Linked DNA regions of Homo sapiens: regions 2, 3 and 4 are each linked to region 1. The links are contacts of gene promoters, found by promoter capture Hi-C in human tissues and cell types (Jung and others, 2019). All regions are on one chromosome and are shown on one strand. The core of a region is centred on a gene start or on the middle of the fragment in contact, and the rest is flanking DNA. Distances in the headings are between cores, read along the strand shown.

Region 1 (5,450 bases), core at 497-2,996:
ACAGACTGCCTTGGGGTGTGGGGTGCTGTCTGATTAGAGAGAGAGCAGCTCTTGAATGGGGGAGGAAACACCTCCACTGTGACTTTTTGCACATTGCATTTGCACAAATTACTCTCTGAAACAGTCTCAAAGGACCATGTCATTTTATAAAGCACTGTGGTCATTTGAAAAGATGGAGGTAGACTGAAATTTTGAATTTTGGGGAATTTTCCTACACTATGCATACTTGTGAAGTTTGTATTGTTAAATTTCATTTGATTTGACAAATCCGTGTTAAGAGTATACGATGTCCAGGTACAGAGGCTGCCCCAGAAACAAGACAGAAGTAGGCAGGGACCCATGGCTCTCATGGAACACGCTTTTGGTTAGAGGCAACAGATAAGGGTAATACATTTATAGCATGCCAGTAAGTTCTATAGTACGGTGTGTTGAGTAGGTGTTGCAGAGAAAAAGGTATGCGGTGAAGGCCGGGTGGTGACGGCCTAGGCCACACTGAAGAGGCAACATTTGAGCAAAGACTGAAAGAGCAGGTGGGAAGAGTCGGGGACAAGAGCCGCCAGAAAGTGTTTCCGGGGAGGGAAGAGTCAGGGACTCTGAACCAGGCCAGGGCAGCTGGAGTGGAGTGAGAGGGAGGGAGGGTCTGGGAGTATGGCGGGGTGACCGGAGGCAGAGCAAAGCACTGCAGGACTTCAGCTTTACTGAGTGAAATGGGCGGAGCAGAGTGTGAATGTGATCAGACTTCTTTTCAAGGGATCATCTGCAATGCTGGAAAGGAAAAGACAAATGATAGATTATTGCAACAAACAGCCAGGCAAGAGATGCAAACTTTTTTTGCAAAGGTGTGTGTGTATATACATCCTTGCACCGGACAGCCACGAAGCACCTACTGTGCTGTGAAGTCAGTAAGGATGTGGGTTAAAATCGCTCACCTCACAGCGGGTCAATCGGGAAAGCACACCCACTCACTACAGCCATTATGGGAAAAAGGGCTCGCCCCTTACAGGATCCTCAACTGTGGAGAGGCCGGGAGCCCACGCGGGGCGCTGGGGAGTCTCTCAGCACCCCAGGGGTTCGGGCAGGGACCTGAGCCGCGCCCTCTCTCCCGGGGGTGCCCTGGGGTCGAGGCTGCTCGGCAGAGCCGGCGGTCAGTTCGAGCCGCGGGCCCGAACAGGGCTCTCCCCGCGGCTCTCTCCCTCGGAGTAGAAGGTGCTGGACCCGAACTCCAGCGGAGCCGCACAACACGTGGAGGAAAAGCGCCAGGACAGCTAACCTTCCCACCTTTTCAAACCTGAAACCCGGCCGGCTGGGGACGGTTGGAATGTTCAGTGCGTACCCGCACCTCAGGCCCCTTGTCTCCAGCCCCAGACCGCCCCGCGACCATCCTCCCCACCCCCCGACCTCTTATCTCGTCCCCGCCCTGTCTCCCCAACCTCCATCCTCCCCTCCACAACCCCCGTCCTCCCGCCCTTCGGCCACGCGCGGCTGGCACAGAACAGGCAGTTAGCGCACACACACTGGAACAGGCGCCACCGTTCAGGAAGTCTCTACAAGACCAGGACCCTGAGGCCTCTGGAAGTGCCGGGACCGAACCAACCCCGCAGAGCGACTAAGGCGAGGGCAGGAGCCAAGAGAATCGTAGCCGCGGTCGCGGGTTGAGCTCCCACCACCCGGACAGCGCGCCTCGGCGATCGCGCACGCGCCACGCCCCGGAAGAGTTCCTGGGCCCGCGACGGTGGCCCGGAAGCAGTCCCCGGTGTCGGGGCAGGAGGCACGCGCGCGGCTGAGGCGAGGTCGCTCGGCGCAGCTGTTGCGGGGCCATGGCGGGGACCGCGCTCAAGAGGCTGATGGCCGAGTACAAACGTGAGTCTGGGGACCCGGGCCGTCAGCAGCGTCCCGCGTTCCTGCTCCCGGGCCCGCGTCGTCCGGCGGGGCTGGGGCAGGGAGCCTGGCGGGGGAGCCGGGCCCGGGGCCTCCACCGTGAGCCCCCCTGTGGGTCCCGCGGAGTGCCGCGCCCTGCGCCCGCTGCCCACTCTCACGCGTGAAGTCGTGAAGAGAAGCCTTCCCAGCATCAGTAAAGGCAGCGCCGGCGCCGTGTTAGTTGAGAGCACACACAGTTGAGTCTTTGCGGGCTTGTTTTTTTCTCTTCTATTTTTTCTTTTCTTGGCAGCCTTGAGAACGTGCAGTGAGAGCTTGAGGAAGAAGGCCTGACTTGCTGCTGCGGAATTAGGAGGGAAAAGTGTATGCGTTAAAAGGGGAAAGGCTCGTTGGTGGAGCTTTGAAAGGTCAGATTTTGGCTTTCCCTCTAATGAAGGAAAAGGGTTTTTGAACAGTGCCACCTGTCACTCCTCCTAGGTAGTGTTGAGGAAACCTCTTGAGTGCTTTCCTACCCGGTAAATTAGATATTTCTAATGTCTGAGGAGAGCGAAGGGAGAAATGAGAACCTAGGAACACTCGGCATTCCATCGTTTTACACCGAATGCCCGCTTGGAAGAACTGCTGCGAGAAGTCTTGGAATACCATTGTGTTGAAAGCGCCAGGAGCCTGAGTCGCCGATGGAGACGAGATAGTAGCCGGCTAAGAGCAGGGCCTGAGTTCAGACCCGGCCTCTCTGCTTGTTAGCTCTTTGACCTTGTTCCTCTCTCTGTCTCTGCAGTTTCCTTGTCTTAAAAGGTTAAACTTGATACTGCAGGTGAAGTGCTTAGCAAAATACCTGATGTGTAACCCTTAATAAAGTTAGCTGCTGCTTTTGTAATTAGATTGAGGATAATTTTGGAAGAAAGTTAAGCTAAAAGAATGAATGTGAGAAAAAAAATAAGTGGTGAATATACATGTAGCTTGATTTCGTAAAACTATTGGTGACACCGCCCAGTAAGAGTTGATGTTTGGCTTAAGCAGACCAAAACGTTGCAAATACAGGCTCACTCACGTATGGTCATTCTTCCCTTGGTATCTGGAGGGGATTGGTTCCAGGCCCCGCTGCAGATACCAGAATCCTCGGATGCTCAAGTCCCTACTATAAGGTGGCGTGGTATTTGCATTTAATGTATGCATAGCCTCTCATAACTTTTAAATCATCTCAAGGTTACTTATAGTACCTAATGCAATGTAAGTGCTGCACAAATAGTTACACTGATTTTTTTTACTTGTATTTTTAAATCGTCATTTTTTATTGTTATTTTTTTCAAATATTTTGTATTCCTGGTTGGTCGAATCCATGGATATGCAGCCGCAGATACACAGGGCCTCCTGTAAACGTTCAAATAACGCTCGCCACCTAGTGTCTGCTAAAGCAGAACATAAAGGCACACCTCAGTTTCCCGCGCGCTTTGCTTTATTGAGCTTCACTTCGCAGATCTTGCATTTTTTACAAGTTTACAAGTTTTTTACAAGCAACCCTGCATGGAAGCAAGTCTGTTGGCACCATTTTTGCTCGCTTCGTGTCTCTCTCTTACATTTTAATCTATTACTGTGATCTATGATCAGTAATCTTTGATGTTACTATTGTAATTATTTTGGGGCATCACAAACTATGCCCATAAAAGATGGTAGTCCTAATAAATGTTGTGTGTGCTTCACTGACTGGCTGTTTCCCCATCTCTCTCCCGGCCTCTCTCTTCCCTGAGACAAAACAACATTGAAATTAGGCCAATAGTAACTGTACAGTGGGCTCAAGTGTTGAAGTGAAGAGTTGCACTCTACCCACTTCAAATCAAAAGCTAGAAATGATTAAGTTTAGTGAGGAAGGAATGTTGAAAGTCAAGATAGGCTGAAAGCTGGGTCTCTTGTTAGCCAAGTTGTGAATGCAAAGGAAAAGTTCTTAAAGGAAATTAGAAGTGCTGCTCTGTTGAACACAATGAATGATAAAGTGAAAAAGCCTTACTGCTGATATGGAGAAAGTTTTAGTGGTTTGGATAGAAGATCAAACCAGCCATAACATTCCTTTAAGCCAAAGCCTAATCCAGAGCAAGGTCCTAACTCTTCAGTTTTATGAAGGCTGAGAGCAGTGAGGAAGCTGCAGAAGAAAAATTGGGAGCTAACAGAGGTTGGTTCATGAGATTGAAGTAAATAACCTGTCTCCATAACAGAAAAGCACAAGGTGAAGCAGCAAGGTCTCCAGAAGATCTAGCTAAGATCAAGATGAAAGTGGCTCCTAAATTAAGCAATAGATTTACAAGGTACGTAAAATAGCCTTATACGGTATTGGGAGGAGATGATGCCATATACAACGTAAACAGCTAGAGAGAAGTCAATGACTGGCTTCAAAGGACAGGGCGACTCTTGTTAGGGGCTAATGTCGGTCACTTTAAGTTGACTGAGTTGAAGCCAGTTCTCATTTATCATTCAGAAAATCTTAGGGCCCTTAAAAATTATGCTAAATCTACTCTGAGCTCTAGAGATGGAAAAACAACCTGGATGACAGCACATCTGTGTACAGCATGGTTTACTGAATATAAGCCCACTGTTGAGACCTACTGCTCAGAAAAAAAGATTATCTTCAAAATACTATTCCTGACAGTGCACCTGGTCACTCAAGAGCTCTGATGGAGAGGTATAAGGAGATAAATGTTTTTGTGCCTGCTAACACAACACCAATTCTGCAGCCCATGGATCCGGGAGCACTTTTGACTTATTTAAGAAATACATTTCATAAGGCCATAGCTGCCATGAAAAGTGATTTCTTTGATGGATCTGGGCAAAGAAAATCAAAAGTCTTCTGGAAAGGATTTATCATTCTAGATGGCATTAAGAACATCTGTGATTCATGGGAGGTCACCATATCAACAACAGGCGTTTGAAAAAGTTGATTTCAATGCTCATGGATGACTTTAAGGGGAGGAAGCAACTGCAGGTGTGGTAGAAATGGCAAGGGAACTGGAATTAGAGGTGGAGCCTGAAGATGTCACTCAGTTGCTACAATCTCATGATCAAACTTGAACAGATGGGGAGTTGAGTCTTACAGATGAGCAAAGAAGTGATTCTTGAGATGGAATCTACTCCTGGTGAAAATGCTGTGAACATTGTTGAAATGACAAAAGATTGAGACTATTCCATAAATTTAGTTGATAAAGCAGCCGCAGGGTTTGAGGGTATTGACTCCAGTTTTGACTGAAGTTCCACTGTGGGTAAAGTGCTGTCAAACAACATCACAGACTACAGAGCAATCTTTTGTGAAAGTAAGAGTCAGTCCCTGTGGCAAACTTAATTGTTGTCTTATTTTCAGAAACTACCACAGCCACTCCTGCCTTCAGCAACTACCACCCTGATCAGTCAGCAGTCATCAATATCCGGGCAAGACTGCACCGGCAAAAAGATTATGACCTGCTGAAGGCTCATATGATTGTTAGCATTTTTTAGCAATAAAAATTAAGCATATTTTGGCAAATAATAATTATTTATTTATTTATTTTTTGAGACAGGGTCTTGCTCTGTCACCCAGGTTGGAGTGCAGT
Region 2 (5,864 bases), core at 1,193-3,692, 1.1 Mb before region 1:
ATCAAAGTGCTGGCTGGTTTGGTGTATGGGAAGGGCCAAGTCTCTGCTTTCAATATGGTGCCTGAACGCTCTTGTCCTCACATGACAGGAGGGATGGAGGGGAGGCCACTCTCTGAAGCTTCTGTTATCTGAAGCCTCTGTTATCTGAGGCCTCTGTTATAGGGGCACCAATGCTGTTCACGAGGGTGGAGCGCTCATGACCCAATCACTCCCCAGCCCTGGGACCCCCCACCCTCTAATACTGTCACCTTGGTGATTAGGTTCCAACAGAGAAATTGTGGAGGAATAGACATATTTAAACCATAGCACCAGGTATCTCAAATCATTACCACATGCACTGAGGCAGTTCTCTTAACAGTTAGTTATACATTAAACTAATTTGAAACAATCTGCACAACTACCCATTTCTAAGAGATACTGAGAAAGTCACATGAGAAAGAGCAAAGCCACCAATCGAAGTAAAAGCCAATCACCAAACATCAGGGTCCTGCAGTCCCACCGTGGCACACAGCCACGGCCTCTGGAAATTTCAGACCACAAGCATTCTGGCTCAGACGGGTGCTCAGCCAAAGGCCACAGTGAGAACGTTAGGCTCTGTGGCCACAGGAAATCCGTAAGGTGTCACCAGAGGGTCCCTGCAGGTCTGAGCATCCAACTTCAGGGCGACTGTCTGGGGTAAACACAAACCCTGACCCCATCGACTAACCTTCCCTTTACCAAGGGCACCGCACACTGCCTTTCCTTTGGGTTCCAGAGCTTTGCAAAGTCAAGTGACCCCCCCTTTGGAACCTGCCTCTGCACACGTGCATCTCTAGATGTGCGTGACCACCTGTCCTGAGTCCTTAATGGAACTGGGCCACCCCAGAAAGTCGCCTCTGACTCCCCTGGCTTCCATCTTCATCTTCCTTCACACAGGCTTTCTGTTAGGACACATCACACCTGCCCCCCACACCCCTGCCACACACATGCACGGGGACGCGCACGCGCGCGCGCACACACACACACACACACACACCTCTGCTTCTGCCCAACGCTGCTGCTGGGCGCAGGCTGGGGCAGCCCCAACAGTGCCTTCCGGTGTGTGGTGGCCACAGCCCGGCTTCCTAGTGGGGTCAGGCACTGGTGTCTACAGCTGACCCCAGGATGAGATGTCCTTGATGTAGCTACAGCAGCATCACCAAAGGTCTGACGCCAGGAACCACTAAAAACGGCCTCTGGGGCAGGTGGGGAAAGGCTTTTCTTGATCAGCGTTTCTCTACCATTTGATTCATGTGTTGCCTTTAATGGAATAACTATTGTTATCTATTCTCCATTCAATATAAATTTTCCTGCAATGATAGTAAATTGCATCTCTATATCAAAGATTTATTTAATGTTCATTAACTCTTAAAAACACTCCTGACCTGCCTTCTCATCTCACTCAGATGGACGTCCTTGCCCCCAACTCAAAAGCATCAGGGTTTGCAGAAGGCTCTGGAGCAGCCCGCTCACCTGGCGGCCACCTCCCAACCAGCTCAGAGGCGCCTCTCGCAGTTCAGAGGGAGCAGCACACAGACTGGAACTGCGTTACGAGGAGCAGCTACTGAGCTGGGCAAACGTTCAAAATGGTTTAGAGAAGAGAAACCTCCTCAGAACCAACTCCAGGTTTGCCCCATCTGCTGACAGCACGAAGCACTTCCGGTGGGGCCGTCTGTCTCTCGTTCTCTGTTGCTCTCCCCTCTCCTCTCCCCAGTGCCTGCCAGTGCGGCCGTCACTCCCTGGGGGCCCTAAAGCCGCCTCCAGAGAGGCCCTTTGCTCACAGTTTGCACCTTTTATCTCTTGGCCCCTAAGGGGTCTGAGCCGCACAGCCCAGAGCCGCCCAGGGTTCCCCTCCGATGGATGATCTGAGAGTATCTTCTTCCTCCAGCACTGGAATTACACCGACGGTTTATCTGAGAGTAACTTCTTCCTCCAGCACTGGAATTACACCAGTGGTTTATCTGAGGGTAACTTCTTCCCTCAGCACTGGAATTACACCAATGGTTTATCTGAGGGTAACTTCTTCCCCCAGCACTGGAATTACACCGACCGTTTATCTGAGAGTAACTTCTTCCTCCAGCACTGGAATTACACCGACGGTTTATCTGAGAGTAACTTCTTCCCCCAGCACTGGAATTACACCGACGGTTTATCTGAGGGTAACTTCTTCCCCCAGCACTGGAATTACACCGACGGTTTATCTGAGGGTAACTTCTTCCCCCAGCACTGGAATTACACCGACCGTTTATCTGAGGGTAACTTCTTCCCCCAGCACTGGAATTACACCGACCGTTTATCTGAGAGTAACTTCTTCCCCCAGCACTGGAATTACACCGACCGTTTATCTGAGAGTAACTTCTTCCTCCAGCACTGGAATTACACCGACGGTTTATCTGAGAGTAACTTCTTCCCCCAGCACTGGAATTACACCGACCGTTTATCTGAGGGTAACTTCTTCCCCCAGCACTGGAATTACACCGACCGTTTATCTGAGGGTAACTTCTTCCTCCAGCACTGGAATTACACCTAGACCCAGCAGGAGCAGAAAAGAGGTGTCGGAGCCCCCGGTCATGGAGCTGCATGGGACCCAGCTCCGCATGGCCCGGGCGGAGCCAAGGACGCTATGCCCGCCTGGCATCCCACTGATTCTGGAATGAAGACAAAGGCCTATTCCACTGGCTTTCCACAGCCTGGATCTGTGTGTGTAGATGGACCCTATGTTTTCATGTGGACTCTGAAAGGGGGAGTTAATTTCACCAGGCCCTCAAATGTGCTTGCCAAGGTATCTTTGTGGCCTGTTTGATAATGTCACCCAACTTCTTAGGCGCAGAGAAAGTATCACTGACGCCTGCCTGTGGCGGGTGAGCACATCCTCACTGCCCTGCACGGGGACAGAGCCCGTCTCAGTTCCCTCCCAGGCCCCGTGGGAGGGAGGAAAACCCAGGACTGCGGCAGAATTGAGACAATTTGACATCAGGCCAAGTCCTCAACACAAGCAGAATTAGTGCTAAGAGGTTAAAAGGTTATTCGAGGTCATATGGATACGACACAGGTCAGGAACGCTGAGAAGTTGATTAATATTATTGTGTAATATTAATGTTAGTAGCAATTAACAGCAGCATGCAGGTAGGTAAACAACCATGAGAAGAGAAAGGTGAGAGGAAGACAAAGTGAAGACTCACATCCGGGTGAGGGATGGCATACTGTCCCTGGATTGTGTAGGCCTAGAGAGAGAGAGAGACCCCGTCAGACTGCAACCTGGCTGCACCACGGCTCAGCACCCGCCGCCACCCTCCAGCATGACAAGGACCCTCCGGTAGAAGCTTCCCCCTCGTGTGCCTCTCCACCTGTCCCCATCCTAGGACAAAGGGCCAACCCTCCCAGGGCACCAGGAGCCCCAGGGGAGCCGCACCCACTTCCTCTGGGCGGGCAGAGCTGAGCTGGCCAGTTCAGCGGGTGGGAGGGAAACAGTTCAGCCTTGATGCTTCCGACTCCAAGTTTCTTAAAGCAAAAGAATCGAAGAGTGATCTGCCCAGTAAGAGGTCTCCACTAATTATTACGGTTTTGAAAATTTAATCAGTCATCTGAGTAAATACTTTTGGGAAATAATTTACCCCAAGAAGTCCAAACAACAAAAGAAAGCTCTAAAAGGTGACCAAAACCAATTCACCAAAAGCCAGTCTACGTAGGAAGTGGGTCTACGTCAGTCACAGCTTGCTGCCTCTCATGACCGCCCTGAAGACAGGGAGGGGGTGGCCCTCCTGACGTGGGGGCAGCAATACACCCCTCCCAAGCCATCGTGTGGGGCTCCTGAGGCCTCATTTTGGCTTCAGTATTTCCCTCGCCTTCAAAACAGTGACTCCGACCTGCAGCCTCTTCCCACCCACCCTGACTCTGAAATCCGGGCAGGTGAGAGAGGCCCCACCTGCCCCACAGGTCCCGTCAGTGGAGACGCTTTCAGGTGATTCAGAAACTCATGGCCAGACAACAAATGGACCACACAGAGTCAAGGGAGAGTGAAGACCACGAACAGCTGTCAGGACTCGGGACATGGACAGGGCTGCACCAGGCCTGGTGGCAGCCTGGGGGTGGAGGGAGCGGCTACCAGCCCCTGGCTGTGCGGGCCCCACGCCACTTCCCATGAGGACCCGTGGTATCGGTGTTCGCGGTGACCACACGTGGGGGTGGGGGGACCCTGTGCACCAGAGAGGGACACTTCAGGGAAGGATGTGTGTCACCTCTGTGCAGCCCAAACCCTCCCATGGGTTTTGAATCTGCCAAGAGTTTTCATCATAAACAACCCAATCCTCGGAGTTAAAGGCCAGTCAACCTCCAGACAGGGACCCGGCTGCAGCCCAGCTTTGAAACAAGCCCCAGGGCTGTGAGGCCACAGTGCTGCGTCAGCTGAGGAAGTAAAAGAATCTTATCAGATAGAGCAGGAACCAAGGACCTCACTGTCCTGTACAAAGTGTCTTGAGGGCCACCTGCAAGTGTTTTGTAAAGGTGCTGCCAGAGGCACGTTCCCATGTGTCACCGAAGGTGAGGGGCCCTGGAACTCATGCTGGGAGCCGCCCCCTCAGCGCACGGGGTCCCAGGTCAGCCCCAACTGTCTGAGCTGAACCACAAGAGCTCAAGCATCCTGCATCCTGGGCCACGCGAGTTTTCTGACTGATCTTCTTACTGTTATGTTTTCTATCTGCTCGTCCCTTAGCAGGCTCTGCTGATTTAACTCACGACCATGTCGTGCTAGAAACGCGGTGGTGGCTGACAGGAGCTGCTGCTGGGTGCCCCCAGAGCACTCACAGTGGTGGGGCATCTTCCAGGTCCCTGATTTCTCCAACTGGACAGAAATAAAGTGGATGGGCCCTCCAGGTTAGCTCTCTAGGGTCTGTATTGGGTTGTGTGTCCTAATCTAGGCACTGTGGGTCTGAGTCGTCAAGGAGACGCCAGTGGCCTTGCAGGTATCCGGCCCACACTTCTGGGTTTGCATTTCGGCAGCTCCCCTGGGTTACTTCAGGGTGGGTAACTCCCTGCGACTCTGTCCTCCACCACCAAGGCTGACCACTGGCCAGACCAGACTGTCCCCAGGGCCCCAGGGCCCAGCTCTCAAAGGGCTGACATTCTAGCATCAACCTTCGGACAGCACCCACTGCACAGGGCCCTTCACCTGCTGCAGTAGGGAGGGCGTGCTACTGCCTTCTTTACAGGAGTGAGAGGTGTGTGGCCGGTGGCTGAGCAGGGCTCAGCTGCACCCCCTCTTCCCTGGAGCTGTGACTCCTCCCCCAGTGGCTTTAAGACCCCACATGTGTTTGTATAAACACACCTTCCTTTTGAAAAAAATCCTACCTTTTACCACATGATATCATCATGGATTTGTTTAAACATAAAGGTGGAGTCCACAGAGGTTACTAAACCGGTTACCTAACCATGAATTTGGGGAAAGCAGCGAAATGGAGTTTTGCACAGGGACTTCTCCCGCCGTGTGACTCCGTGTGACCCTGTGACCTGAGCCCCCTAGGTCGGCGAGGTAAGGACATGTCCTGCTGCCCACAGGGCTGTGACACCAGGCAAATCCCTGGCTAGCCAGGCCCAGTTTCCTGGCTATAAAATGGGGGTGTGCCATGCCCTGGGGCTGCTGTAAGGATGGCATGTGCATGTGGGGGCTCCCTGACCACAGCAAGACAGGAAGGGGTGTGTGCCAGGCTGTGGAGACGAGGCCAGTGTGGGGAAAAGGCATACCCTGCCCTGAGCACACGGGACCCTGGGAGGGAAGGGATGGACACACACTCCCTGTCTCTCCCTCAAACACGGGCCACAACTGGGAGATCTGATAAGATTCCTTTACA
Region 3 (5,716 bases), core at 2,278-4,777, 1.1 Mb after region 1:
ACGACTCATTTTCTATGTTTGCTTTTATATGATAGAAATCATACTGTTTTTCAATTAAGCTTTATTTTTTATCTAATGATGCAAACAGTTCTTTTTTTTTTTTTTTTTTTTGAGTCAGAGTCTTGCTCTGTTGCCCAAGCTGGAGTGCAGTAGCGCCATCTCGGTTCACTGCAACCTCTGCCTCCTGGGTTCAAGAGATTCTTCTGACTCAGCATCCTGAGCAGCTTGGGATTACAGGCGTACGTCACCACACTGGGCTAATTTTTGTATTTTTAGTAGAGATGGGGTTTCGCCACGTTGGCCAGGCTGGTCTCGAACTCCTGACCTTAGGTGATCCACCTGCTTCAGCCTTCCAAAGTGCTGGGATTACAGGCATGAGCCACTGCACCTGGCCTCAAATTCGTTTTTATGTTTGTTTTTTCTTTCTTTCTTTTTTTTTTTTTTGATACAGGGTCTCACTCTGTTGCCCAGGCTGGAGTGCAGTGCCACGATCTCGGCTCACTGCAACCTCCGCCTCCCAGGTTCAGGCGATTCTCCTGCCTCAGCCTCCCGAGTAGCCGGAATTACAAGCATGTGCCACCATGCCTGGCTAATTTTTGTATTTTTAGTAGAGACAAGGTTTCACCATGTCTGCCAGGCTGGTCTCGAACTCCTGACCTCAGATGATCCACCCGTCTTGGCCTCCCAAAGTGCTGGGATTACAGGCGTGAGCCACCACGCCTGGCCCTATGTTAGTGTTTTCCTTATAGAAATCTTATTTTTTTCAATTAAACTTTATTTTCTATCTAATGATGCAAACAATTTTTTAAAGCAAAATAATAAGATCTTTAATGGAAAACAGCATTCCCTTCAGCAGGCTCTCCATCTGCATGTCTCATTCTTGATACAGGGACCACCTTTAACTCGTAGAGCTATTTATTCTGACTATTTATGTATTTGTTTTCTTTTTCTTTCTTTCTTTTTTTTTTTTTTTTTTGAGACAGAATCTTGCTGTGTTGCCCAGGCTGGAGGGCAGTTGAGTGATCTTGGCTCACTGCAACCTCCGCCTCCTGGGCTCAAGCAATTCTCCTGCCTCAGCCTCCCAAGTAGCTGGGATTACAGGCATCGGCCACCCTTCTGGGCTAATTTTTGTAGTTTTAGTAGATATGGGGTTTTGCCACGTTGGCCAGGCTGGTCTCAAACTCCTGACCTTAGGTGATCCGCCCGCCTCGGCCTCCCAAAGTTCTGGGATTACAGGCATGAGCCACCACACCCAGTCTATTTTTTTCTTTTCCAACTTTTATTTTTAATTCAGGGATGCAGGTGCAGGTCTGTTTCCTGGGTATACTGCGTGATGCTGAGGTTTGGGGTGCGAATGATCCTGCACCCAGGTACTGAGCATAGTCTCCGGCAGTTGGTTTCTCAGCCCTTCCCCGCTCCCTCCCTCTCCTCTCTGGTGGTCCCAGTGTTTACTGTTGCGGTCTTTTATGTCCATGGGCACTGATGTTTAGCTCCCACTTGTAACTGAGAGCATGTGGTCTTTATGTCCATGGGCGCCGATGTTTAGCTCCCACTTGTAACTGAGAGCATGGGGTATTTGGTTTTTAGCTCCTGTATCGATTCACTCAGGACAGTGGCCTCCAGCTGCATCCATGTTGCTACAAAGGACATGATCTCGTTCTTTTTCGTGGCCGCGTCTGTGTTTGTGACCGCAGGAGTGCTGTCAAGCTGAGAGGCTCTCTCATGTTTAAAGTTTTTTTTTTTTGAGACGGAGTCTTGCTCTGTCGCCCAGGCTGGAGTACACTGGCGCGATCTCGGCTCACTGCAACCTCCACTCCCCAGGTTCAAGGGATTCTCCTCCCTCAGCCTCCCGAGTAGCTGGGAATACAGGCGTATGCCACCACACCCAGCTGATTTTTGTATTTTTTAGTAGAGATGAGGTTTTGCCATGTTGGCCAGGCTGGTCTCGAACTCCCAACCTCAGGTGATCCACCTGCCTCAGCCTCCCAAAGTGCTGGGATTATAGGCTTGAGCCACTGTGCCCAACCTAAAGATGTATTTTTTTAATAACATAGCCTCTACAAAATACAAGTCAGATATTTTTTCTTGGCACTGGACCCAATAGAGAGCGCCTCCCAAAGGAGCTCCTGAGGGCAATCTTGGGTCTACCCAACTGCTAGAGACTGAGTGTGTCCCCCCAAATGCATAGGTTGAACCTAACTCCCAAGGTGAGGGTATCAGGATGTGGGGTCTTGGGAGGTGATGAAGTCGTTGCGGGGAGCCCTCAGGAATGGGATTTGTGCCCTTGTGAAAGAGGCCCCAAAGAGCTGCCTGGCCTCTCCCAGACACCAGATCTGCCGGTGCTCCATCTTGGACCTCCAGCCTCCAGAACTTTGAGAAATCAATTTCTGTTGTTTATAAGCAGTTTATGGTCCAGTCAAGTGCCACAAGTCCCATAGATAGTCCCATACATGATGACACCGTATTTTTTTTTTTTTTTTTTTGAGATGGAGTCTCGCTCTGTCACCCAGGCTGGAGTGCAGTGGTGTGATCTCGGCTCACTGCAACCTCCGCCTCCCCAGTTCAAGCGATTCTCCTGCCTCAGCCTCAGAAGCTGGGATTACAGGCATGTGCCTCCATGCCCAGCTAATTTTTGTATTTTTAGTTTAGACGGGGTTTCACCATGTTGGCCAGGCTGGTCTCGAACTCCTGACCTCAGGTGATCCAACCGCCTCGGCCTCCCACAGTGCTGGGATGACAGTGTGAGCCACCGCACCCGGCTGGCACGTTATTTTTTATGCCTTTTCTGTATTTAGATACACAAGAGCTCACCACTGTCAAGGGGGCCCACAGTATCTGGTGCAGTGACATGCTCTGCAGGTTTGTAGCCTGGGAACAGCAGGTTACAGCACAGGGCTGAGGTGTGTCACGGGCTGTGCTAGCCGGGTTTGTGTGAGTGAATGCTGTGAGGTCTGCACGACAGTGATATCGCCCGAGCATGCATTTCTCAAAACAGATCTCACTAGGCGACCCATGACTGTACTTGCTATAGCAGCCAGCACAAACCAAGCCACTTCTGGGAAACTCCATCGCCAAATACCATCCCTCTGGGGATTAGGTTTCAACACATGCATTTGGAGGCCTCAGACATTCCACCTCTAACAGCCTCCATGTGGCAGGTCTGGGCCAGAGCTGGGCAGGAAAGGGGAAGGGCCTTCTGGCTGAAGGGTCCCCACAAAGAGGCCAATGAGTGGGTCAAGAGCGTGGCAGTGTGAGGAACTGAAGACAAGCCCCGGCGAGGTGGGGCTGTGACCGGGGCTGAGCGGGCAACAAGTGGGGACTTTGTCCAGCAGGTTCAGAAAAAGCTGTCACGCAGAACACATCTGGCGGCCACCCCTGCCCATGCCCATCTTATAGCGTTTTCATCAGCAGATTTCAGCACATAATCATTTAAGATAAAGTTGCCCGCTCAACTGTGTTAAAAATAAGTAGCACTGCCTGCAGTTGCTTGTGGGGAACAAAAGCAACGTCTCCTTTCACCCGCAGAAAGCCCGTGATAGGGGGCGGGGCTGAGTGTCAGTCTGCACCTCTGCTGAGTTCTCAAGGTCGGCGTGAATGATTTGCCAGGACGTGGCGCTGCGGTGGCGATCGGGGCCACTCGGGAAAGGTACGAATCAAATAGGAATCAAATCCGGTAGCTGTCAGTTCAGTACATTTTCAACTTTTATTCTTAAAAACCTGGGTGGAGAAATAATTGTAGGATTTAAAGATTGACGGACTGAAGCCTTAATCACCAGGCAGTGACTAACGCCAGAAAGAGCTGCGGCAATTTTTAGACTGGGTTCAGAAAGGCACCGAGTCCTAGGAACAAAAGGCGGGCGCAGGGCCCTCCGGGAAGACACAGGGGCTGAATCGCAACAGGACGCAGGCGGCTCACCGTTCTCTCCACACGGACTCTACTTCCTAAAAGGGAATCGCACCAGCATAACCTGCAGAGAAGGGGCTTCAGCTGCCGTCTGCGGACCCCCTACACCCCCACTCAACGCCACCTCCAGCCCCCAGGTAGGGCTGGCCTCCCTGCCTCAGCCCCTGCCAGAAGCCCGGGGCTGCCCTTTCCTGCAGCTGGGCCTGTCCTCCTGAGACAGCTGCCTGCTGGGCGTCGTCGTCCGTGCCAGCCACGGAGGCAGTGTCTCTTCTGGCACGTGCTCCCAAAGGAGCAGTGAAGAGAAAGTCAGAGGCTGCAGGGTGCCAAACCCCAGGGGGCTGGCCCTGGAAGCCTGGGACGCCTGCAAGGGCCAGGTTAGTGGAGGTGAGGACAGAGGCCCGCCTGCTGACGGGCTTCCCAGCTCTTCTCAGAAGGAAAACGTGCCCATGGAGATGAGGTGGATCAGGAAACGAGGAGAGAGGCCGACACGCTCTGGAAACCTCCCTGTCTTCTTTTCCCCATTCTCCCTGGGCCCTCCCCACATCAACCAGAAGCCGGTCCTCCGATCCTGCCCGCTGAGCCCAGGTGTGGGCCCCAGGCCTGGCTGCCCTCCCGCCTCTGGTCCATCCGGGCCTCTGACCCTTCCTTCCCCTGCTGCCTGGTGGGTGCTCTCCAGTGGCTCCTGAAGTGTGCACAGGACAAAGCCCAAACCCTGCCCACGGCCCCCACGGCCCCCATGGCCGTCCCTGGCCAGCCCCCCTACATCCTGGCTGCACTGGCTGTTCCCTCCTTTGTGCCTCTACTCAGGTGCGGTTCCCTCTACTGAGATCCCCACCCCGACTTGTTCTCTGGACAAACTTCCTCTCGGCTTTAGCTGTAGAATCGCCATGGCCAATATCATAGCTGCAACCACATGTGACTCCAGAGTGCCAGGCGACGCGTGCCATCAGCATACACGCCTGGTTTTGGAAACTTACTACAGAAAAAAAAGCCTGCAAAATATCTTAATACTTTTTAATATTAATTACGTGTTGAAATTATATTTTGGAAATACATTATTTAAAAAGATTGACAGTTTCTTTTTCTCTTTTAAAAAATGTGTCTACAGCCGGGTGCAGTGGCTCACGCTTATAATCCCAGCACTTTGGGAGGCCGAGGTGGGCGGATCATGAGGTCAGGAGATTGAGACCATCTTGGCCAACATGGTGAAACCCCGTCCCTACTAAAATACAAAAAAAAAATAAGCCAGGTGTGGTGGTGCGCACCTGTAATCCCAGCTACTCGGGAGGCTGAGGCAGGGGAATCGCTGGAATCCGGGAGATGGATGTTGCAGTGAGCCGATTGCGCCACTGCACTCCAGCCTGGCAACAGAGCAAGACTCAGTCTCAAAAACAAAACAAAAAGTGTGCAAGGAAATTGAAAGTGACAGCTGTGGCTTGCATGGTGTCGCAGGTCTCATCTCCTCTCTGGTCCCTGGACTCCAAGCAGTCCCTGTTGTCTTTCTGGCCTGTATCCCAGCGCCTGGCACTGCCTGGATACTCGGCGGGCGTGCCAAGCATTTTTATCAAAGGAGAGAGTGCCTGGGACTCCTTGATCTGCACCCACCTTCAGTGAGTCAGTGTGTGGGTGCGTCCGAGGATGGGGCCCTCACCTGGCTGCAGCTGTGTGTGTGTGTGTGGTTTTTTGTTTTTTTTTTTATTTTATGAGATGGGGTCTCAGTCTGTCACCTAGGCTGGAGTGCAGTGGTGCGATCTTGGCTCACTGCAACCTCTGCCCACTGGGCTCAAGCAATCCTCCCACGTTAGCTTCCTG
Region 4 (5,992 bases), core at 3,493-5,992, 1.4 Mb before region 1:
TGATACCAAGACATACAGTAAAGCTCCAGTACTTAAAACCATGTGGGGATGCCAGAGTAGATAAATGGATCAGAATAAAGAGTCAGAATATGTGACAAAAGTGTTAGGCCAAATTATTGAAATTAGTGGGGAAAAGACAAACATTGGCATGTGTTTAGAAAAAAATGTCAGATGCCTTCTCTCTCACCATTTGTAAACATTACTTCCAAATGTATCCAAGAGCTATCTATAAAAAACCTTGCCAATACTAGGGAAGAACAGAATCTGGAACCCTAGGGTGGGAAGCAAGACATGAAGCAGAGAAGCTCCAAAAACCTAGCTGCCTCTTGAGAGCAGAAGCTTCCAAGAGGAACAGGCAGTCTCAATGCCTCTGTGCATAAGGGTCCCTACAGTGCAGGGGCTGCCTTCCCTCTTTGCTCCACTCCCTGACTTGATGGAAGCTTGGAAGCAGGCATGGGGCCAGCATGAGCTGTTCCAGGAGGGCACATGTGTCTGAGGCACATGTTCTTACATGTTAATGCACATGTGCAAATGTATCTACATGCTTTACATGATGCTGTAGAAATATTTTCTCTTGACCATAAACATTTCAAATCATGTACTTACAGTTTGGCAATAAAGCCTTTTCATCCTTCTGCAAACAATTTTCCCATACCATTGCTTCACATGCACCGTAACTGGAAGAGGAGCACAGAGTGTGCTCAAGAGGGGAGGATTCCCAGCACAGAGGATCTGATGCGAGGAGCTTCTGCTGAGGAGCTCTTGGCGCAGTGTTTGTCGAGCAGTCTGCTGCTGGAGAAAGAAGAGAACAAGAGGTGAAGCCCACTTCCTTCTAATTCATGTGTGTTTAGTCTGCTTTATGCTGTGAGGGGAGACTGGTTATTGCTTGATTAATATAAGACAGCCAGGATGGAGAAGGGCAGGTGGATTATTAGCAACAGTTTTAGTGATGTAACTATTTAAAAGCTCTTTGAAGACAGAAGCAGTGCCCTAGATAGTATGTTTCTAACTGTTTATATTGAAGTGAATTTCATTTATTATTTATTATTGAAAGTCAGTGTTAAGTTTTTCTGGGAAATTCATGTGGTTAAGTCTGCTCAGAAGATGGTGAGTGCTGAACACTATGGCTGGCCACAGGCACCCTGCCCTTGGGAGCCTGAGGCATTGGTGGATCATCCCATGCTGTGAATGGACAGGAGCTGGGGCTGCCCCTCCTCTACATTGCCCACTTCCCTCCCTCCCATGCATACCTTTCCTTTGCTTTCATTTGATGGCCATGTTTACCATTTTACTGAGTAGAATCAGGAATAAGGGACCTTCCACAGGTTGTCCTCTGCCTTCCCTGCCCTCCCAGCCACATCCAGCATCCTCCCTATATCCCCTTCCTGACGCCTCTTGTTGCTGGAAACGAACCATGCAGCTCGTAGTCAGTCAGCCCTTCCCTGGGCTGGGATCTCATCTCCCACCTACCCAAGGACATTCATTCAATGAGTATCTCTCTCGTGCTACCACCCCTCCCCATATTAGGTGGTGCCCATCAGCAGCACACAGACATGAAACATGCCTCCCTGTCTTGGTCCCACTTCCCTCTTTAGCCACCACTTCATGTTTCTGCCCTCTTAATGGTAAAACTCCTCAAAAACGCTTGTGATACTCACTTCTTCAGCCTTCTTTCCCATGGGGATGAAGGCCCAGGGTTGAACATGACCGTGAATCCCAGTCCTTGGTAGCATCCCATACTTGATCCTCCCCTCCTTGCTCCTAGGATGTCCGTGGTCCCCCTCCTGCCCTGCTGGTTCCTCCTCATCCCCCAGCTGCCCCCTGGATTCATTCTCTCAACCTCTCCTCTGCATCGTCTGTACCTACTCCTCAGAAATTTCATCCAGTTTCATGGATTTTTAAGTAACATCACTATTCTGACAGCTCCAAATTTGTATCTCAAACCTCTGAACTCCACACTTGAACATGCTACTGCTTCCTTGAAATCTTCATTAGACACCTATTGGATGTCTGGTAGCCACTGCAAAGTTAACATATCCCAAATCCAGTTCCCGGCTTTCTTCCAACCAACCCCTTCCTTTGGTGGTCATCTCTGTTGATGGCGGCTCCATCCTTCCAGCTGCCTAGATCAGGTGCCTTGGAATCATCCCCTCACATCAGCCCATTCACATATCCTATTGGCTCTATTGAAAATACATTCAGAATTGGACCACTTGTTATGACTTCCATGGCCACCACGTGGCTCAAGCCACTATCATCTTCCTTCTGGATTATTACAGTAGGCTGCAGTTTAGTCTTGGTAGACCTGGTGGGTGCCTTTCAAGTGAGTTAAGATGGAGGTCGTGTCACTTGCTTGCTTACAGCCTCTCAGTGGTTTCCCTCTTTCACCTGCAATCAAAGGCAAACTTTGCAGGGGTGGCCAGGGCCCTGAGTGATCTGCCCCCCATTTCCTCTCTGACCTCCGCTCCTTCCTTGAGCATGGTAGGCAGTTCACAGTTGGGCCTCTGAGTTTGCTGTTCCTTTTGCCTAGGACTGTCCAGCCCCTCCATTCTCCCCAGCATCCCCATGGCTGATCTTGTACTCACTTCAGATCTCTACTCAAATGTCTGCTTCTGTTAGGCCCTGCTTGCCCATCTCCGACCTTCTTGTTTCCATGGCTCTGCTTTGTCTTTCTCATCTTCAAACCATGTTTCTCTTGTTATGTGTTCCTTGTCTGTCTCTCCTCACTAAAGTATAAATTGCTTAGGGCAGGGCCTCTGTTTTGTTTCAGTGCAATATTCCTTGTACCTAGAATGATGCCTAGCATCTGGAGGAGGCTTAATGAATATGTTTTGGAAGGGTGAATGAATGTGTCCGATTACTAAAATCAGTCTCTATAATTTAAGTGGTTTGGGATGAGATTTTTTTTTCCTTTTTATTAGATAGAGTCTCGCTCTGTTGCCCAGGCTAGAGTGCAGTGGCACAATCTCGACTCACTGCAACCTCCACCTCCCAGGTTCAAGCAGTTCTCCTGCCCCAGCCTCCCAAGTAGCTGGGACTACAGGTACCCATCACCATGCCTGGCTGATTTTTGTATTTTTAGTAGAGACGCAGTTTCACCATGTTGGCCAGGCTGGTCTTGAACTCCTGACCTCAGGTGATCCACCTGCCTTGGCCTCCCAAAGTGCTGGGATTACAGGCATGAGCCACTGCACCTGGCCAAGATTGTTTTTCTTGAAAAGACCGGTATATGGAAGTAGACAGCTCTAGAGTATGTTAGGTGGCAGTGGGATATTATTTTGAGTTAATTTTAAGCTATAAGCAGCAATCCACTCATTTGGAAAATGTCAGAAGAATTAATTATAGATGCATAAAACCAAAGTAAATTAAATAAGATAAGCCAAACAAGACAATTACAAGTAATGTTAAGTAACACATCGAAGCAGTTGTTTTTGGATTAATACCACCTTTTTCATTAAATATAAATTGGAATTGGATTTATAAATTAAAGGGAAGTGGTTTCTCTAATTTTTTTTTTTTTTTTTTTGAGATGGAGTTTTGCTCTTGTTGCCCTGGCTGGAGTGCAATGGCGTGATCTGGCTCACTGCAACCTCCGCCTCCCGGGTTCAGGCAGTTCTCCTGCCTCAGCCTCCCAAGTAGCTGGGATTACAGGCACGTGTCACCATGCCTGGCTAATTTTTGTATTTTTAGTAGAGACGGGGTTTCACCATGTTGATCAGGCTGATCTTGAACTCCTGACCTCAGGTGATCTGCCCGCCTCGGCCTCCCAAAGTGTTGGGATTACAGGCATGAGCCACCGAGCCCAGCCTAGTTTTTTTTTTTAAATTAAGCTTTATCATAGGAAGTTGTTAAATTTTTAATAAGTACATTTCTGCTTCTCAGTTGATGTCATAACTTAGTTATATTCTTAGTAAAAAGCAAAGGCTTAAGGCTGGGTGTGGTGACTCATGCCTATAATCCCAGCACTTTGGGAGGCTGAGGTGTGCACATCACTTGAGTTCAGGAGTTGTAGACTAGCCTGACAATACAGCAAAATCCCGTTTCTACAAAAAAATACAAAAATTAGCTGGGTGGCATGCGCCTCTAGTCCCAGGTATTTGGGAGGCTGAGGTGAGATCATTTGAGCTTGGGAGGTCAAGGTTGCAGTGAGCCAAGATTGTAACACTGCACTCCGGCCTGGCCAACAGAGCGAGACCTTGTCAAAAAAAAATAATAATAAAATTGGCCAAGCACAGTGGCTCACTCCTGTAATCCCAGCACTTTGGGAGGCCGAGGTGGGTGGATCACCTGAGGTCAGGAGTTCAAGACCAGCTTGGGCAATATGGTGAAACCCCATCTCTACTAAAAGTACAAAAAATTAGCTGGGCACAGTGGCACTTGCCTATAATCCCAGCTACTCAGGAGGCTGACGCAGGAGAATCACTTGAACCTGGGAGGCAGAGGTTGCACTGACCCGAGATTATGCCACTGCACTCCAGCCTGGGCAACAGAGTGAGACTCTGTCTCAAAAAAAAAAAAAAAAAAATTATATAAAATTTTAAAAAAGCAAAGGCTTAAAAAGTTTTTAAGTATATATAGAAGATTAATGAACAATAGTTAACTTCCTAATGCTCAAATATTTTTGAATTTATTACATATTGTTTCAGGTTTGAAGATCAGCTTCAGCAATGGTTGTCTGAAGACTCAGGAGCATTTACGGATTTAACTTCCCTTCCCCTCTATCTTCCTCAGACTCTAGTGTCTCTTTCTCACACTATTGAACCTGTGATGAAAACATCTGTAACTACTAGCCCACAGGTGAGAAGAACGTATACATTTGGCATTTACATAAGAATTAAAGATTGAGAGAATGGCTGGGGAAAAAAGTAATATCACGATTTATCCTATGATGTTTTGATGACCGACAAATTATTAGCTCAAATTAGACCTTTTCTTAAACTTTATCCATATCATTGTTAAAGAGACCCAACTGATTTTGAGTTTCTGCCTACGAAATAAATGAAGAATAGAATTGAAATATTCTTAAGAACTGAATAAGACCTGTAACTGTGTGCTGATGTGTAATTAAGGGCATTAAGGTGATGACAGCAGCTTCTGTTGGAGCACATATTGTCTGAGCTTTGGCATTACCCAGACCTCTCTTCTGGGATTAATTTTTCCTGAGGAAAACTAATGAATGAGGAAGGTAAGCTCCCAGAAGTCAAGAGCCTCACCCAAGAGTGTTCAAGTAGTGAGTGGTCAGGTTGCTTTTCAAAGCCAGATCCAACTGGCTCCAAAGCCTAAGGTCTTTTTACCTTACCATTCTTCCTTCAGTGGTTAAAGATGCAAAAACAGAGTTTCAATCACAGATATGTGCCACTGAACAGGTAAAAACTGTGCTCCTGGACTGGCTTTAGGAAGTCCTTCAATAGAGGAGAAAAGCAAATTAAAATGATGTACTGTTTCCATTCATCAGTTTGGCAAATACTTTAAAAATATTCATACCCTTTGAATTACCAATTCTAACCTAAAGAATTCTGACCTACCAGATATTCCCCAAAAATTAATGTATAAAAATGTTTACTGTAGCATTATTGTATGAAAGTCGAAACAGAATAAATATCCGAAGATGGGAGTCTGATTAAACAATTATAACACATTCATGTGATAGAATAATTCACAGCCCTTGACGATGATATTTTCTAAAAATGACTGGCTGGGCGTGGTGGCTCATGCCTGTAATCCCAGCACTTTGGGAGGCTGATGAGGGAGGATCGCTTAAGTCCAGGAGCTTGAGTCCAGCCTGGGCAACATAAAGAGATCTCATCTCTACAGTACATAATTAGCCAGGCATGGTGCTACATGCCTGTTGTCCCAGCTACTCAGGAGGCTGAGCTGGTAGGATCACTTGAGCCCAGGAGTTTGAGGCTGCAGTAAGCTCCGATCATACCACTGCGTTCCAGCCTGGGTGAAAAATGACTGACACTGGAAATTGTTCATGATAGAATACAAA

Evidence for each region. The method cuts DNA at HindIII sites, captures the fragments that hold promoters and counts their contacts. A contact is called where the count stands out against the background at its distance.
Region 2: a contact is called between a fragment that was not itself captured here and the fragment with the promoter of UBE2G2 in region 1, in 1 of the 25 tissues and cell types used here (dorsolateral prefrontal cortex).
Region 3: a fragment that was not itself captured here is called in contact with the fragment with the promoter of UBE2G2 in region 1 in 1 of the 25 tissues and cell types used here (hippocampus).
Region 4: a fragment that was not itself captured here is called in contact with the fragment with the promoter of UBE2G2 in region 1 in 1 of the 25 tissues and cell types used here (dorsolateral prefrontal cortex).

What each region holds. Positions count from the first base shown.
Region 1 is chr21:44,798,116-44,803,565 of GRCh38, reverse strand. UBE2G2 (ubiquitin conjugating enzyme E2 G2) reads left to right here and starts at 1,746. Exons shown (of 6, transcript NM_003343.6): 1 at 1,746-1,860. The coding sequence starts at 1,818. It overlaps LINC01424 (long intergenic non-protein coding RNA 1424), which reads right to left and starts at 1,325. Exons shown (of 2, transcript NR_109928.1): 1 at 930-1,325. RefSeq lists silencers at 1,128-1,177, 1,678-1,897, 1,958-2,017 and an enhancer at 1,565-2,520. The HindIII fragment of the contact is 9,913 bases long and covers 1-5,450 here.
Region 2 is chr21:45,914,966-45,920,829 of GRCh38, reverse strand. PCBP3 (poly(rC) binding protein 3) reads right to left here. Exons shown (of 18, transcript NM_001384156.1): 13 at 3,201-3,242. Among named protein-coding and RNA genes, the nearest start is that of COL6A1, 64 kb to the left of the region's middle. RefSeq lists an enhancer at 1,156-1,655 and a silencer at 4,128-4,354. The HindIII fragment of the contact is 4,969 bases long and covers 1-4,926 here.
Region 3 is chr21:43,700,988-43,706,703 of GRCh38, reverse strand. It overlaps LOC124905030 (a long non-coding RNA gene), which reads left to right and starts at 3,404. Exons shown (of 2, transcript XR_007067894.1): 1 at 3,404-4,041; 2 at 4,712-4,972. The HindIII fragment of the contact is 8,181 bases long and covers 1-5,716 here.
Region 4 is chr21:46,235,634-46,241,625 of GRCh38, reverse strand. It overlaps MCM3AP (minichromosome maintenance complex component 3 associated protein), which reads left to right. Exons shown (of 28, transcript NM_003906.5): 26 at 609-815; 27 at 4,647-4,797. It overlaps MCM3AP-AS1 (MCM3AP antisense RNA 1), which reads right to left. Exons shown (of 4, transcript NR_110565.1): 3 at 607-792. Among named protein-coding and RNA genes, the nearest start is that of MCM3AP-AS1, 9.4 kb to the right of the region's middle. The HindIII fragment of the contact is 5,213 bases long and covers 2,136-5,992 here.